3 separate regions of the Homo sapiens genome follow, and all the other regions are linked to region 3. Evidence: promoter capture Hi-C in 16 types of primary human blood cells and fetal thymus (Javierre and others, 2016). All regions are on one chromosome and are shown on one strand. Each heading gives the region's core, a stretch centred on a gene start or on the middle of the fragment in contact. The rest is flanking DNA. Distances are from core to core; before and after follow the strand shown.

Evidence for each region. The method cuts DNA at HindIII sites, captures the fragments that hold promoters and counts their contacts. A CHiCAGO score of 5 or more calls a contact.
Region 1: a contact is called between a fragment that was not itself captured here and the fragment with the promoter of PNPLA4 in region 3, in 1 of 17 cell types (total B cells). The highest score is 5.2, in total B cells.
Region 2: a contact is called between a fragment that was not itself captured here and the fragment with the promoter of PNPLA4 in region 3, in 1 of 17 cell types (total B cells). The highest score is 5.9, in total B cells.

The regions. Positions count from the first base shown.
Region 1 is chrX:7,226,194-7,229,759 of GRCh38, reverse strand. The region is part of intron 2 of STS (steroid sulfatase); the gene reads right to left. Among named protein-coding and RNA genes, the nearest start is that of PUDP, 80 kb to the right of the region's middle. The HindIII fragment of the contact is 1,237 bases long and covers 1,051-2,287 here.
Region 2 is chrX:7,258,842-7,262,219 of GRCh38, reverse strand. It overlaps STS (steroid sulfatase), which reads right to left. Exons shown (of 11, transcript NM_001320752.2): 6 at 2,448-2,871. Among named protein-coding and RNA genes, the nearest start is that of PUDP, 110 kb to the right of the region's middle. The HindIII fragment of the contact is 2,959 bases long and covers 1-2,932 here.
Region 3 is chrX:7,925,637-7,928,777 of GRCh38, reverse strand. It overlaps PNPLA4 (patatin like domain 4, phospholipase and triacylglycerol lipase), which reads left to right and starts at 1,365. Exons shown (of 7, transcript NM_004650.3): 1 at 1,365-1,492; 2 at 2,646-2,838. The coding sequence starts at 2,659. It overlaps LOC107985675 (a long non-coding RNA gene), which reads right to left and starts at 1,278. Exons shown (of 5, transcript XR_001755784.2): 1 at 1-1,278. RefSeq lists enhancers at 758-837, 1,178-1,227, 1,248-1,487, 1,718-1,947, 2,610-2,659 and a silencer at 2,636-2,930. The HindIII fragment of the contact is 3,086 bases long and covers 737-3,141 here.

The DNA of each region.
Region 1 (3,566 bases), core at 420-2,919, 700 kb after region 3:
AAGAATCCAGCTGACCCTGAAAGGAGTTTTTAACGACTGGGTGTAGGTAGGCTGGCACGGCAGATCAGCATCCTGATGAGGTCCAGCCAGACAGCCCACCTGCAGCCAACCCTTCAATGCACTCCTGCAGTCTTCATGAAGCCCCCTGGGGAATCGTACACCACACAGTGCAAAAAAAACTCAGAGTGAGGCAGTGCAGGGAAGCTCAGATGCACCCCTCCAAGGCACTCCAAATCTTCCCCATGGGCAGCCACACACCTGTCCCTGTTCCCCAGCTAGGATGGGAATTTGGAATGACCAAATCCAGGGCAAGACAGAAAACAAAGAGGACCCTTCAAAAACCCAACAAGTGAGCAGTCAGGCTGCAAACAGAGCATGACTTAAGAGTCTCACCAATGCTCAGATCCTAAGCTCTGCTAAAGGGAAAGTGTGGATCCCCTCTCAAAGCATCTGAAGCCAAGGGGGTGAGCGGAACCTAATTAAAACCAAACAAATCACAACCACACTGAAATGGCAGCTTACCAAGGGGCCACACAGATGAAGCGTGTGATGTTTTCTAGGCGAAAATATGACTGACTCGGTCTCCACTATTTTTTATAATCAATGTCTATTATGCATGCATATTTATGTTTGCACGTATGACATGTGAAATAGCAGGAGGTATGCAAATGTTAGATATTTCATCTATATCCTTTAAGACATCCATAGGAAATCCATAAAAGAATCTAGCAGGAAAGGCAAACAGCATGTGTTAAGAGATGGGGAATTTCAGTGGCAAGATGAAAATACAAAAGAAGAAACAAACAGAAATGCTAGCTATAAAACAAAATAGATGTAACATCAGAAATAAGAAGTTCATGTCATGGGCAAAGAAAAGAATCAGAGACCTTGAAGACAGGTCAAGAAAATTATCCAAATTAAAATGTAAAGAGTAAAAGGTAAAATGAAGCAACTATTTCTATTCATCAAAAGATACTTTTAAGAATGTGAATAGGCTTCAGGCCATAGAAGCAAAAACAGACAAGTGGGACTACGTCAAACTAACAAGCTTCTGTGCAGCAAAGGAAATAATGGAGTGAAAAGGCAACCTATGGAAGGGGAGAAAGTATTTCCAAACCATATACTGATAACCATATATCCCAAATATATAATGAACTCCCAAACTCAATAACAAAACTACAAATAACCCAATTAAAAAATGGCCAAAGGACTTCACTAGACATTTCTCCGAAGAACACATACAAATGCCAAGAAGCACATGAAAAGATGCTCAACATCACCAATCATCAGGAAAATGCAACTCAAACCCACACACAATGAGAGATCACTCCACACCTGTCAGAACAGCTGCTCTTAAAAAAACAAAAAACAAGAGACAAGTGTTAGTGGGGATGTGGAGAATTTCTTTGCACATGGCTGGTGGAAATGCAAAAAGGTGCTGTTGCTACGAAAAACAGTACAGAATTTCCTTGACAAATTAAAAAATGGAACTACCTTGTGATCTAGCAACCCCACTCCTGGAAATATACCCAACAGCATTGAAATCAGGATCTCAAAGACATATCTGCACTCCTCTGCTCACTGCAGTACTATTCACCATAGCCAAGATATGGAAGCAACCTAAATGCCCATCAACAAATGAATGGATTAAAAACAAAAAAAAACATGGTCTATACATACAATGGAATACTATGCAGCCTTAAAAGGAAGGATATTCTACAATATGCAACAGCATGGATGAACCTTGAGAACCTTATGTTAAGTGAAATAAGCCAGGTACAGAAAGACAAATTCTGTATGATTCCACTTACAGGAGGTATCTAAAGTAGCTAAATTCATACGACCAAAAAGTAAAGTGGTGGTTTCCAGGGGATAGGGGAAGGGAAAATGGGGATTTATGAGTCAGCAGGCATAAAACTTTAGGTAAGCAAGATGGATTAAGTCCAGAGACCTGCAGTCAAACATTGTATCAGCAGTCGACAATACTGTATTGCACACTTAAAATTTTAAGAGGTTAGATCTGATAGTATTCTTATCACTATCAAATAAAAACATTTTTTAAACATATTGCATGGAACAATGACAATGGCAAATACTAAGGTCACCGTTCATTATTTCACATCTTTATGTCTATTCTAAGACTTTTGCTTGGAAACTTGGCCTAATAATATGTGCTTTCCTTAATAACTATGTGCTTGGAAACTTTCCTTAATAATACAAATATCCATGTTTTTTATTCCAAACTCTCAAACTAGCATATTGTCTCATCAGATAGCAAAATAAAGCTTGCTTTTATAAAAAAAAAAAAAAACAACGATTTGAACAAGGCTAATAGAGTAACTAGAACTGAACAATGGCTATAGAAAGGTTTTAATTTACTTTTTGGGGAATGATTGGTTTTTTTAGATGCTTCTAATTTATCATCAAGTGAAGAGAGTGGGACTATTGAGAGGATACATGAGATAAAATAATTCAAAGTAACATTCAATTTTTTAAAAATTAAGGAAAAAGGAATATAGATAAGCAACATAGACCAGGGAAACTTATTTGTAAGACAATTATTTTTTAAAGGATTTATATCCAGAATATGTAAAGAACAAATCAATAATAAAAAAGGAATGAAACAATGAAATGGGTAAAACAATTGAATATGCACTTTATACAAGAAGATATACAAAAGGCTAATAAGCAAATAAATAGGTATTCAGCCTGATTAGTAATCAGAGAAGTGAAAATTACCACCATGAGATAGCATTTTACAACCCCTACGGTGGCTAAAATAAAAACAAAACAAAACAACGAAAAACGGAAAATATCAAATGCTAGTGAAGATGCAGAACAAGTGGAACTCTAAGTTTTTTTCTTGAGACAGGGTCATGCTCTGTCACCCAGGCTGGAGTGCAGTAGCACGAACAAAGCTCACTGCAGCATTGACCTCCTGGGTTGAAGCAATCCTCCCAACCTCAGCCTCCCAAGTAGTTAGGACTAGAGGCAAATTAGCCACCACCCTGGCTAATTTTTTTATTTTTGTAGAGATGAGGTCTTACCATGTTGCCCAGGCTGGTCTCAAACTCCTGGGCTCAAGCAATCCTTCCACCTCAGCCTCTCAAAGTGCTGGGATTGCAGGCATGAGCCACCGTTCCTGGCCCCTAGAACTCTTATATATCACTTGTTGAAGTGTAAACTCATGCAAACGTTTTAGAGAAAAGTTTGGCCATTTCCTATACAATTGAATATACATGTATCTTACTGTCAAGCAATTACACTACTCGATGTTTAAACAAGAGAAATAAAACTATCTATCCACCCAAAGCCTTAGTCACAATAACCAAAAACTGGAGACAATCCAAATAACTATCAACAGGAGAATGCATAAACAAACTCTGGAACATCAATCTAACCTAAGACTACTCAGCCATGAAAATAAATGAACCACTGATACATGCAACAACACATAAGAATCTCACACACATTATGTTGAGTGAAAGAGGTGAGACCCCAAATAATCTATATGGCTTGAATCCATTCATATGCAGTCCAAGAAAAGGCAAAAATTGTCTGTGGTG
Region 2 (3,378 bases), core at 204-2,703, 670 kb after region 3:
AGATTTTGCATGGGCAAGAAACAAATCTTCAAGTGTTAATCCACTGAGATTTTGTCAGTCTTCACTGACAAAAACAGAAACTGGCAGCAGAAGTTGGATGTTAACCAAAATAAAAACTTAAATTGTGTGGTGCTCCCTCAGCCGTTGGGCAGCTAGTACATAGAATACTCTCTGGAGCCAAGTCCCAGAGGCTGAAACTGAGAATACTTAAAATGACCAATGACCAGTTTATATATTTCACAGTTCAATGACAATTTAGATTTTAACAAAATCTGTCAAAACTGAGAGGCGGTGTGAACTATAAGAACTAATCATTCTATTTGTGTCTCATTTTTAGAAGGAGGAAGTGATACTATCAATTGCAACTTTTGTGTAAGTCACTTCGTAGTCTGTTCAGACACCCAAACCATATGTGGGCTTCTGTCAGAGTTGATGAAACACTTTTGTGATACCAGAGAGATATACTAAAATACACCCTATGATTTATCTATTGCATAATCCGTGATGTTGTGGGTAGCAGGACACTGTTGTACCTCCAGGTGAATGGGTTGCTCCTATGCTGTTTCATAACTGGAAGAAGAGAGTGAGGAGAACCACTGCCCATTCCCAACCTCCAGTAAAGCATCAACTCCAGGCACACAAGATCTGGACAGAGGAACACAACATCTTCCATGTGAGGAAATGACAACATAATTTTCATAGAGTACGTTACCTTTTACCTTTCTCACCAGCCCTAACTTATGTAGCTTCCACATACCTTAACTATGTATTCTCTTCTTAGGCTGAGCATATTTGCTTGTTTTTAAATTAAATCCCTAATATAGTTTCCCTTCATCACAATAACTTCCTTTTCATTGTCATTCATTGTTCAATCCAGAGATTGATTTTACAATTTTGTGTCATGCAATTAATTGGATGACAAACCAATATTACCTATATTTCCTCTGTCTCCTTTATAATTTTTAAATCACCCTCCCAACTCTCTTTTACATCTCTCATAGAGTTTAAGTCACCATAAAGACCAAACGTCTGATTTTCAGATGAACTTTCCATTTCTCTTTAGAGTCCTGTTCTCCACAGTTACAAGTGGAACAAAATACTTTTATTTGCTTGTTTTGAATAGCAAGTGTTTTTGACATAGCCTCTATATAATATCTACTTAATTATATCTACTTATGCTCTCTATATTATGTATTATAATATAGATATATATTATACCTACCTATGTAATTCAGGAATGCTGTCTGCTCCACTGTTGATGGTTATTCCATTTACAGATTGCAATCCCCAAAACTATAAACTCAATGGGACCTGACAGACCCAAGAGACATCATTCACTTCACCCAGTTTACTCACAGAGGTTTTTGTTTTGTTTTGTTTGCTCAGAGATTAATCCAAAATATTTTGGATCTTTCCACATTGTTTATATCACAAGGACAACCTATAAACTAAACATAAGCCATTATCTTGCCTCTCTTGATGGCCACATTTGAAAATTAAAGACCAGTGGGGCTGGGTACTGTGGCTCACACCTGTAATCCCAGCACTTTGGGAGGCCGAGGTGGGTGGATCACCTGAGGTCAGGAGTTCAAAATGCAGACTGACCAAGTTTGTGAAACCCTGTCTCTACTAAAAATAGAAAAAAAATTAGCCAGGCATGGTGGCAGGCACCTGTAATCCCAGCTACTCAGAAGGCTAAGGCAGGAGAATCACTTGAACCTGGGAGGTGGAGGTTGCAGTGAGCCAAGATCGCACCACTTGCACTCCAGCCTGGGCGACACAGAGAGATTCCCTCTCAAACAAACAAACAAACAAAAAACCAGTGGGATATCTGACACCTCCTTTGTCATCAGCAGACATTAATTTGCCATGGGCCTTTCCAGCCCAGGATGTGGGGAATGTTGGCAAAGAGACTCTAAGGAGAGCACACTGCATTGCAATACCTTTCTAAGGCCATTAAACATGTGCTATGGCGAGCTCTGGCTGAAGAAATGTGTTAGGCATGGAAGGGAAAATGTGGCTAGCATAATAACCCTACCAGTTCTGGCTGGGCGTGGTGGCTCACGCCTGTAATCCCAGCACTTTGGGAGGCCGAGGCGGGCGGATCACGAGGTCAAGAGATCGAGACCATCCTGGCTAACACGGTGAAACCCCGTCTCTACTAAAAATACAAAAAATTAGCCAGGTGTGGTGGCGGGCGCCTATAGTTCCAGCTACTCAGGAGGCTGAGGCAGGAGAATGGCGTGAACTCGGGAGGCAGAGCTTGCAGTGAGCCGAGATCACGCCACTGCACTCCAGCCTGGGCGACAGAGCAAGACTCTGTCTCAAAAAAACGAACAAACCACAAACAACAACAACAACAAAACCCTGTTGGTTCTTCCACCTCCACGAGAAATAACCCAGAATGTTTTTTAACAGGCAGCATCAGAGGACAAGGCAATACCCACCGCTGTATGAACTGGGCCGCCTCCACCGTTAGCCTCTGGGTGAGATTGTCATAGGACATGGGCTGCTGAATGATCTCGTAGTTCCTCATCATGAAGCAGTTCAGGGGCCGGAAGTAATGAAGGAAGCCCAAGAAAAGGGTCAGGATTAGGGCTGCTAGGAAGAGAAGGCTGAAAAAAACGCCTAGAGGCACGTGGAGTAGCCCCAGACAATTGAGTGCAGCAAGGGTAAGGAGGGTGACCCCGACGATCTGCAGGGGGAGGAAGACCAGCCTCTTGAAGCCCGTGGTGAAGACACTGCCCTCTCCGGGCTTGCAGTCTCTCAGATTGGTCAAAGAGATCCCATAGAAATAATTGAAGCCGTGATGTAAAGGGTGGTGACAGAAGTCAGTCTTGCTGTGACAGCTCATCCCAAGGTGCCATTTCCCTGAGAAGACAAATGGGGGATCACTTCAGTCCCAATAAACACCCTGATTCCAATCCAAGCTTCTGTTCCTACATGCTGAAAAGGAGGTTCTTTCTGACTATTTCATGAAGCTAGCCTTCCCGCTCATAGGACCCTAGAATTTTTCACTTTTTTTTCCCCACAAACGCTAAGGTATTACCTACTCACTCTACCAGAAAATAAGAACTAATTTAGCGATTCCAACAAAACAAAACAAAAAAACAAACAAAATCTCAACCAGATAAAAATCCTCTACTCACTCTACCAAGAAATAAGAACTAATTTAGTGATTTCAACAAAACAACACAAAACAACAACAAAAAACCCCAATCAGATAAAAATCCAAAAAGAAAACTAGCTAATATCTTTAATAGGCAGGAAACCACACTCTACAGAAAAATACAAGTTTGTTTTTTTTTTTTTCTTTTTCCTGGTCAGATGCTTTTCTGAGACAGGCCCTTAAAATTAAAGTTTTAGAAGCAACTTAAT
Region 3 (3,141 bases), core at 116-2,615:
CCACTGCTTCAGGATTCTGTTAAAACGCAGATGCCGACTCAGATCAGAGATGGGACCTGGGATCCTTCCTTTCTCATGAGCTTCCTGGAAGATGCAGTTCTGGGGAGGATCACACTCGACCTTAAAGAGCTAGAAGATTGTGGAAGGTTTAAGGACTGGAGTGTGTCCTGTATTTTCCTAATGTACGTTGTGCCTTCCCTTCACTAAATTCCGGTAGAGGTAAAGAATTCTGAGTAATGCAGTCATTCTACGATAAGGCAATAAGGTGTTTCAGGATCAATTTTCTCTAAAGAATAGTTATGTGAATTAAAAACATCTTCCCTAATCGTCACATCAAGGACTCACAGGTGTTGTTGGCCAGAGACGATACACCAAAACAGAAAGAAAAAGCCCAAACCAGAGGCAATTTGGAGAGCTCCACCCCTCCTCCCTGTTTTGTCTAAGGTAGAGACATTCTCGCAGACGCTCCTTTGTAGCCTCAGAGAAAGTAAATCTCTGCCCTTAAACTAGGGGACCTGGAGAGCCTTCAATCACGAAGTCAGGGATTCCTCCAGGCTTGGTTATTAGGATTAGATAAGGAAAACACCGTTTGGGGAGAGAAAGAATTATCAGAGTCCTTTAAATCTTGGTGGGCATGGCAGGCATCTTGGCGGTCGTTGAAGCTGCTTAAGTCTGAGCCAAAGGTGCCAGAGGACAAAACAGCCACCTGCTCACGGCCCCCTATGTGGAAAAAGCTTTCCAATTTAGCTCTCTCATTTTAGCATCTCAATCTGCACATAAGGCACGCGGGAAACTCAGAGAGGTTATGCTACCTGCTCAAGGTCACACAGCCTAAGGTCAACTGAGGATATGAAAGTTCCCCAGAGTCATAGTCCAGCTTTTCCTTTAGATAGCACTTCTTAAAAAAACCAAAGGCACGCCTTGAAAAGCTGCGGGATGTCCAGCCCCAAAATAGCCGCTGGAGTTGGCCCCTAGGGGCAGCTGGACCGCCCAGGCGGGCGAAAGGGTGGAGAGGGAGAAGAACCACTTCCGGGAAACAGACGCGAAGAGGGTAAGGCACTTCCGGGGCACAGAAAATGAGGATTATTAAAGGTCAGTTGCTCGCAGGTAAGGGCCAAGTAGCGTTAAAAGACACGTAAGGATTACAACGCCTCTCTAGGGTGTGGGTTAAAATGTCTCTCTAGGTACTCGAAGATAACATGACTCTAAACGAGGAATCCTTGCCTGCGCTGGAGGACGCTCCGGTCTAGCGGCCAGGTTGAGTCCAGAAGTTTAAATAGAGCAGGCGGGGCCTAGCGGGCGCCTTCGTCGGCGCGATGACGTCACATACCTGCGCGGGAGGCGGTACCAACCCCTGCCGCAGGACTTTCCTGGGCCGGCTCGCGGAGAGCGTAGCGCGGCCTTGGTGGCGGAATGGCGTTGAGTGACGGCCCGGCCCCGCCATCTGGTTAAAGGGACTCGTTCAACACGGAAGTGTCCCGGGGCTGCATTGGTACGGAGCCCTGGGGCCCAGCAAGGGTGTGCTCCTGCGGGACTGATGCGGGGACCACCCCGGCCCTGCCGGCCTCCAAGCCGCGGGAGGGCACTGAGCCTGTGCTGGCTGGGCCTGGCCGCCTGGTTGCTACACACCCAACCCCCTTCCCGTCCCCATTTGCAGAAGTGGAATCAAAACTGGGGCTTGACCCCGGATCGATGACTGGGACTCAGCCTACGCGGACGCCAGCGCAGCCTGCGGCGGCCGAGCCACCTGCCCTCACAGGGCCTGGCCGGGTGCATCAGGAACAGGCGGTCTTAGGTCCCTAAATTCGAGGCCCTGTAATGTGCCTCATCTTGGGGTCCCTGAATGGGGCCCTTGGGCCCCCAAGGAAACCCTGAGACCTTCAGAATGGACAGCCTTGTGGAGGCACAATTTCATTCACTTGGGCAAATTGTGCGCACTGAGGCATAGGAAAACATGTAATTTTGTATTTAGATGTGTTCCAAGTATAAAGTGGCGTGGCTGACATTTCATAGAGCCTTAAATTGCCTTCACCAGGCATGACCTCAGTTTGTGTTGAGATACTTGGCAAAGAAATGTATTGCATTGTTGAGTGATTGCTTATTGCGTTACTGAGTAATTGTATTGGCGTTCATAAAAGCATGGGTGCTCACAATAGAAATTGGGAAGGGGAGTAGGGAACTGTATTTGAAATCTTCTGATACACTTACCAAGAACAAATGTATTGTTCATTTGGAATTTGATACGGTCTCTAATAATTTTCTGTTTCATAATGGTAGTGCCGCCCCCACCCGCAAAACGTTTCAAAGGGTCAAGAGAAAAGACCAAATGCCCTTGTCAACTGGAATTTATACGTCTGTTTCCTGCCAAGTAATTAAATCGTAGATTCATAATCTATGTACCGAATAAATGTGGAATGTTTTTGTTTTGTTTTGTTTTAATGTATAAGACTTGGGTCAAGGTGAGGAGGGAAAGAAAGGGTTTCCTTGAAAGATTCTTGTGTTTAATTAGAATTAATTGAAACCACTGTGCTTAAAACAGAGAATGATGTTAGAAGAAAGCCTTGGAACGATGATCAACATAAGACTACACAGTATGTGGGATAAACTATTCCAACTTACAGCATTTTTGTTTTTTGTATTGCCAGTGCTACAGCTAGAATGAAGCACATCAACCTATCATTTGCAGCGTGTGGATTTCTGGGCATTTACCACTTGGGGGCAGCATCTGCACTTTGCAGACATGGCAAAAAACTTGTGAAGGATGTCAAAGCCTTCGCTGGGGCGTCTGCGGGATCGTTGGTTGCTTCTGTTCTGCTAACAGCACCAGAAAAAATAGAGGTAATTAAGTAGTAACTTAGGCTGTGTTCCTCATCAAGAAATTAAGACCCAAAGGCAAACACCAGCATTGACTCTACTAAGTTAACACTGCAGAGAAATAATCGTTTGCTTGGAAACAGAAAGGATTAGGACTTTTCTCTTAAGATGTAATTATTAGGGATCTGTGCTCTGGTTGTGGAAAAGATTATTTTGGGTGATAGTGAAATAAGGAAATAAAATGACTTATATTACTCTTGAGTTTTTATTTATCCTTAAGATTCCAGCTCTGTTCCTTTCAAGCAAAGGATATTTCTTCTTTCTATG